2 separate regions of the Homo sapiens genome follow, and region 1 is linked to region 2. Evidence: promoter capture Hi-C in human tissues and cell types (Jung and others, 2019). All regions are on one chromosome and are shown on one strand. Each heading gives the region's core, a stretch centred on a gene start or on the middle of the fragment in contact. The rest is flanking DNA. Distances are from core to core; before and after follow the strand shown. Region 1 overlaps LOC107984406 (a long non-coding RNA gene). Region 2 holds the start of FEZ1 (fasciculation and elongation protein zeta 1).

Region 1 (3,513 bases), core at 930-3,429, 550 kb before region 2:
CAGATCCTAAGTTAACAAGTCAAATAGTTTATCCAAAAGGTAATTACAGCCAAACCAGGCAGTATATTGGGGGAATGAAACTGGAAGGAAAGGAAGCCAGTAAAGGCTGCATATGAAGCAAATCACTATTGTGGGCAGCTAGAGCTTATTCCTCTTGGGAGCCCTAGGTGGTAGTAAAGAATATGCCTCCTAGGGGATAGGGAGCTGGGGTATTTATCCACCAACTGCCATCAGATATGAGCTAAGGGGCTGCTTCTGAGGGGTAAGGAGATATTAATTTCTGAGGCTTCTTACCTCCCTCTTCTAACTGCTCTCTCTCTCTATATATATATGTGTGCGTGTGAGAGAGAGAGAAAGAGAGAAAGTGCTACTCTGCATTTGACTGTGTCAACCACTATATATATAGATATTTGCTTATTTATTTCTTCCAACCCCATCTTACAAACAAGAAAACAAACTTCTGAGAGGTCAGCAGCTTGTTGAAGTCATATAGCTGTTAAGTGACAAAATTTGGATTGGATCCCAGACAGATCACCAAAAAAGCTTAGGGTTTGACCAACCCCTAATGCACCAGTAGGAATTCCTCCTCCTGGTATAAGCTTTTACCCTCCAGGACCTACTCCCTGACTAAGCTCTGGATATGAAGCAGCCCTCTCTCCCCACTCCTTGGGCCTTCTAGTATTGGTGAAGGTATTTTCTTTCTTTCTTTCTTTCTTTCTTTCTTTCTTTTTTTTTTTTTTTTTTTGAGATGGAGTCTCACTCTGTCACCCAGGTTGGAGGGTTTCACCATCTTGGCCAGGCTGGTCTTGAACTCCTGACCTCGTGATCCACCCACCTCGGCCTCCCAAACTGCTGGGATTACAGGTATGAGCCACTGTGCCTGGCCTAGTGATGAAGTTATTTTCATTTTTATTTTTTGTTGTATAAATCTATATGCAAATGGTACTGGTGTTGTCTCTACCATAAGTTTGATTTCTCCTAATGGACAGAGGACGCAGGAGGCAAACACCAGCCAGAGAATTTGTAGAGCTGCAGCACATTGCCTGGGAAACAACGAGATTGTATGAGGCTTTGTGTTGAGAGGAGGCAGGGCCCAGCTCCTACAGCAAGCTCTGAATAAGAGACAGATTAGCTAGCTCCCTTCGGAACAAAACAAGCTTTCTGTATGCCTGGACAGTGAGGAATGGCCCTCCCCAAGAACATTTTCTTTTCTATTCGTTCTCTTTCTAAAGTTCTCCTAGGTGGCCCTACTCTGGGGGCCTCAGAAAAACATCAAATAGAAAGTAGAAATGGAGTCAAAAGGCTCCTTCATCCTGAAATTGGTTTTGCTGGCTGCAGATTTCTGTAAACATGAAGAGTTACTCAGATGAAAAGGGTTCTGCAGAGATATGGTGTCTCCACAAGATGTGGAGTTTGTTGGGAGAAATACATGATCCTGGGAGTGGCATGGGGTCCTGGGTAAATTTTGGAAGGGCAGCAAGGAGGGGCTCCCATTTCTCTGCTGAAAACAGGAGAACATCAAAGTCTTTTATACTGAGAGTAAATATTTGATTTTTGAATAGAATTCCGGCCTCCTCAGAAAGTGAGAGGGACTCAGGCTTGTGTCCATGGTTGCTAAACGTGCTCTATTCAGCCACTCTCCAGAGGAACAAAGAGGAGAAATTAATTGGTATTAAAGGGCTGGAAAGATCCAGCTTTTGCTGACCTATTTAAGATGCAGCAAGGACATTCTGGAGAATATCTCTGGAGTTCTGTTCTTGTAAAGCTTCAGTGCTTAAATACAAACAGGTTGAAAAATCATGGGGAAGCCACAAATTACACCCCAACTCATGAAAGCCTTCACTGTTTCCCTTCTCCTAGATCCTCAGATGGTGTCCACCCACCAACCGTGTCAGGGGAAGGATTCGCTGCCCTCTGCCGTCGTTCACCCTCCTACCAAAGAGGGAGGCTCAGAAATGGGAATCAGCTGGCCAGCATCTGATAATTGCCTACTGTGTGAAGAACACTCTATGTTCCAAACATTAATAAAAGTGGTGGGATGTGGAAGAGGAGGAAGGCGGCACATTCAAAAGTAATAGACGACACCATCCCTGGATCCCTGTCTAGGAGCTGAAATATATTATAGCTGGGAAGGCTGCACCTACATCTATAAGCAAGTATAATTGATAAAACATTTGCATTGCCCTTTACAAATTATCTTTTAGAATATTATTTTATTTAGCCTTCTAACAACGCTGTGCAGTGGGATTTTTTTTTCCATTTTTCAAGGAGGATCATGAAGCTTAGAGAGGTTAAATAACCTGCTCCAAGTCACACATTTTACAAGTTGGCACAGCCTAGACTCAACTGTGCTTCCTGTCTAATGTTCATAATGCTGTACCCCTGAAAGAGGTTTCCTTCACATTTGCAAGTTGGCACAGCTTAGACTCAGCTGTGCTTCCTGTCTAGTGTTCATAATGCTGTACCCCTGAAAGAGGTTGCCTTCAGCCAGGCCCAGAAGTAAAAACTAAGTAGGAAAAGGAGAGTTCTGAGACAAGATGTGAGAAAAGGGATCAGGCAGGTGACAGGACCATAAAAAAAAAAAAAAGCTTAGTAAGCAAGGGAAACTGGGCCCCCACAGGTTAGGCCAGGGACACTAAGAAGATAGATTTGTGATACACAGGATTCAATATGGGGAGGGACCACATTTCTTAAAAGGAGGCCCTAGCTAAGTTGTCAGCAGAGGTGTCTTGAAGACAGCCCCCAATTTTCCCCTTGTTGCAGTACTTACAGGATTTGGCTTTGTCTAGTTTAAAGATCCATGCCAAAGTCAGGCCTCCAAGATTCTGCATCTGGTTTGTGGCCCGACAAACTAAGGAATGTGATTTGTCAAGATCATTTGATTGTAAGTGACTGAAGTTCAACTGGAACTATCTGAAGCAAAAAGGGAAGAATTTCTTGCATTATGTAACAAAATTTTTCAGGGAGCAGGAATAATTGGAAATAAGACAGTATTTTATATCTGTGCTGTCAAATATAGTAGCCATTAATTAGCCCCGTGTGGCTAGTGGGACTGAGGAAATACATTATAAATTTCATTTAATTGTAATTAAACTTAACACATGTATCTAGTGGTTAACATATTGGACAGTGCAGCTTGTCATGCGGGCAGGAGAAGAAGACTCTTGATGGAACTAGTTAAAAAATAATCTTGGCAAAAGGCCATGGCTTAGGTCACATGCACAGCTCTGGATCAATCACTGTAGCAAGGAGACTAGAACACTATCCCAGGCTGGGCCATGTACTTAACCCCACAGTCACAGGTGGGGCCATTACTAGAAAAAGCGGGAGAAGGGATGCTGGGAAGACAAATCAAAATCTTCTAAGGTTTTATGACTCTATCTTGCTTCCTAAAAAAAAGTTAGCAAGCATTTACTGAAAGTCTATTATGCATGATATATTTTACATATGTAACATTACTTCTCACAAAACACAAACAAACCCTCAAGGGTCAATTGTTATTACATATGTTAC
Region 2 (3,564 bases), core at 633-3,132:
TGCTTTCATCCTTCAACTAAAATGTCTGAAACAACCTTATTTTCCATCCTGGCAAGCTTGCACCATCCTCATTCATAGCTCATCTGGGAGCCTTCTTTTCCTTAAAGTAGGATTAATACAAGCGATAGCTTATTCCCTTTAGACTTCCAAGATCAAAAATAAATACGTACATACATGAAAATGGCAGAAAGAAGGAACCATGGGAGGGTCGCCTTTTCTTTTTCTCTTTACCACAGAACAGAGCGCAGGACTATAGTCTGATTGTCCTACAATCTATTCCATTTATTTTCACTCCCAATAGATGGTGTAATTTGGAAAAGAAAAGACACTCACGGGGCTTAACAGAGACCCAGTAGGAAACGCATAAACGTCTCCCTGCAGCACAATGATGCACTCGCTGCATCTCGGGGCTGCGGTACAAATGCTCAGTCCCTGCTTTGCTGAGCTGACCCGAGTGGAGCGGAGCGGTGGAGATTTCACCACGCTAACCCCGCTGGGCCTCGGCACCTCCACACAAGCCCCATTCCATCTCCTTCTTCCCATCACTTGGTCCATAGATCAACTGATTCCGTGCCTCGTCCCCCATATCCGTCCCTAAAACCTACCCTGCACTGATCCACCTTCAGATTTCCCACTGCTCCTCCGCAGAACCCACCCAGTGTGCATGTTTGTGCACATTTTGACAGAAAAAGTATTTCGTTGCATATGGATCAGCAACCCCTTCGCGGTTCTGCTTGCTCCCCTCCCCCTCCTCCCGCTGCTCCATTCACCTCCATCTCAGATCCCCCTCCTCCCCCCAGTCCGGTGGGGTAAAGAAAGCCTCCTCCAGGCAGCACAATGGCTGGCACTCTGAGGAAGCCGGACTCATCCCGTGCAGGCCGCATACACACTCCACTGCCCTTCCGGCCAAACAAGCCCGGACACGGGAGAGGGATGAGAGTCGGGGATGCCTAGCGGCGAGGAGAGAAGGGATAGGCAAAAGGGAAGAAGAGCGGGCTGTGATACCTCCTCGACGCCGTCAAACACTGCTCCCCGCATTCCAGAGCCCGGGGCCCACCCGACGGCAGCGCGCCCCGCCACCGCGCAGCCGCCCCGGTCCCTTCTCCCGCCCGTCTGTAGTAAAACAATCGCTCTCCCGGCGTCTGCGGCCGCTGCCAGCGGTTCTGACACTGCAGGAATGCGCGGTCTGGGGAAGGCTCCGCACTCTGGGGAGGGGCACGAGCGGGGTCGGGGGTAAGTTTTTAGGGACAAAGATGATCTTGGGGCGTTTACGGTGACTGGACCAGATAACGGTCCCGGGACGAGGTACCGACCCACTGCCCCAGCGCGATCGGGCGGCGTTCCCTTCTTCCCCCAGCCCCCATACCTCGCCGCCCTGCCTTCACACGCGCGCACACACGCGGGCACACACACGCGGACACACACACACACACACACACACACACACACACACCAGGCCTGGCTGGAGGGCCGATGCTGAGATGATACTGGAAGTGCCCATCATCCCACATCTCCAGGGCCTGGCGCGGCGTCCCAGCTGCGCTCCCTGAAGGGCTGGGCAGGAAGGCGACGGCCTCCCGTTGTTCCTTTCTAATCCCAGAATGGGACCAGGTGAGGGGAGCTGCGGCGACCCCAGACCGTCCTGTCAGAGAATCCCGGGGCCTCCTTACCACCCCCACCAGACCCCACCCCCAGCAGTGAGTCGGGTCCTAACTAAAGTCAACCCCCGCGACGGCACCTGTGCGGGTCCTGGCGGAGGGAGGCGGATCCCGGGGCTCAGCCGGACACCCCCATCCACGGGCCGCGGGAGCGGCCGGAGCGCAGCGCAGCGCAGCGGAGAGCCAGCCAGCCAGCCAGCCAGCGAGCGCTCCCCGCGCAGCTCCGGCGGCGCCCGGCTCCGCTCCCGCCTCCACCCCACCCCTTCCCCGCGCTCGTGCCCGGGCTCCGGGGGCGCGCCCGCGCTCGGGCACCCACCCAACTGGCACGCGCGGGAGCTGGACGTCATCCCCTCGTTAACATTCATAGCCTTCCTCCGAGCACGTGGGCTTGCCTTTATTAATATTTATGCATTTCTGTTTCTCTCCTCTTTAACATTGGCCTTTCTGCTTCCCTCATGAATATTCAGAAACTCCAAGATGAAAGCGTGCAATAACTACCAATATGGATACCTCGCAAAGCCTGACACTAGTTTCTGGATAAAATGCAGGCGATGGCTGCTGGCGGATGCCGGCAGACACACTCAAAGACCCTTTTGGACTTTCCGAGTTTCCCATTCTCCTCTACTGGAGGCTGAGGCGGGCAGGCCCAGCGACGTCTCCCAGCTCCAACTGGGTTCGGACCTCAAGCCAAAAATGAGGAGGCCGGCAGGAGAGCTTTTCTCGCCCAAAGATGCTGGGTGGGAGCTGGATCCAGCTGAAAAATCTGAGTGAGAAGGTTTCAGGCCCAGGAGGACTTGAGATAATACAGGAAAATTCAAGAGGCTGAAATGAGAAGGGTCCCTGGAGTCTTGTGAAAAATTATTAATTTATCTTGTCTACTGTGCATAGGCCTGTGCTTATAGAAGTTGTCAATAAAAAATCTAATAATTCACGAATACACACAACTAAGAGCACAAGAACTGTAATTATCGAAGGAAGGCACTGGAAAAAGCATGTCGGCTTGGAGAACCCCAAGTACTTTTGTCTGATGGCAAAGTACCTCTGGGCTGAACTGAGGACTTCAACTGGAAGGGGCAGGGAGCGTCTCTTTTGCTCGTTTATGCATTCATTCCACAGACATTTCAACCATGAGAAGGATGGAAACAGGAATAATGTCCCAATGAGATGAGAAGAAGCGTTGGCCTATTTGCCTTTGTGGGAGCAATAGACAGAGGATGTCTTCCTGTAAGAAATCATAAGGCCAGGCACGGTGGCTCACACCTATAATCCCAACATGTTGGAAAGCTGAGGCAGGAGGATCACTTGAGGCCAGGAGTTCAAGACCAGCCTAGGCAACATAGTGAGACCCCATCTCTATAAAAAAAAAAAAATTAGCCAGGCATGGTGGGCCCATCCTGGTAGCCCATCCTGGTAGCCCCAGCTACACTGGAGGATGAGGTGGGAGGATCGCTTGAGCCCAAGAGGTTGAAGCTGCACTCCAGCCTGGGCGACAGCAAGACCTTGTCTCAAAAGTAAATAAATAAATAAATAAATCACAAAGAGTAGCTGGTTAAAAGATCCCTAGATCTCCTTTCTTGGGATCATGCCCAGTTTTGTGACCTTGGGTTAGTTAACTTCCCTGTGGCTCATTTCCTCATCTGTAAAATGAAGAAAATAATAGTGCCCGCCGGGCGCGGTGGCTCACGCCTGTAATCCCAGCACTTTGGGAGGCCGAGGCGGGCGGATCACGAGGTCAGGAGATCGAGACCATCCTGGCTAACACGGTGAAACCCCATCTCCACCAAAAATACAAAAAATCAGCTGTGCGTGGTGGCGGGCGCCTGTAGTCCCAATTACTCGGGAGGCTGAGAATGGCGTGCACCCAGGAGGCGGAGCTTGGAGTGAGCCGAGATTGCGCCACTGCACT

The links. Contacts are between HindIII fragments. The study calls those that stand out against the background at their distance.
Region 1: a contact is called between a fragment that was not itself captured here and the fragment with the promoter of FEZ1 in region 2, in 2 of the 25 tissues and cell types used here (dorsolateral prefrontal cortex and hippocampus).

Annotation. Positions count from the first base shown.
Region 1 is chr11:124,941,540-124,945,052 of GRCh38, forward strand. LOC107984406 (a long non-coding RNA gene) reads left to right here. Exons shown (of 2, transcript XR_001748429.3): 2 at 1,861-2,051. Among named protein-coding and RNA genes, the nearest start is that of HEPACAM, 7.2 kb to the left of the region's middle. The HindIII fragment of the contact is 2,603 bases long and covers 879-3,481 here.
Region 2 is chr11:125,494,383-125,497,946 of GRCh38, forward strand. It overlaps FEZ1 (fasciculation and elongation protein zeta 1), which reads right to left and starts at 1,883. Exons shown (of 10, transcript NM_005103.5): 1 at 1,739-1,883. LOC403312 (putative uncharacterized protein MGC39545) reads left to right here and starts at 832. Exons shown (of 2, transcript NR_164146.1): 1 at 832-1,233; 2 at 2,126-3,564. RefSeq lists enhancers at 1-438, 941-1,444, 1,445-1,946 and a silencer at 1,821-2,070. The HindIII fragment of the contact is 6,934 bases long and covers 1-3,564 here.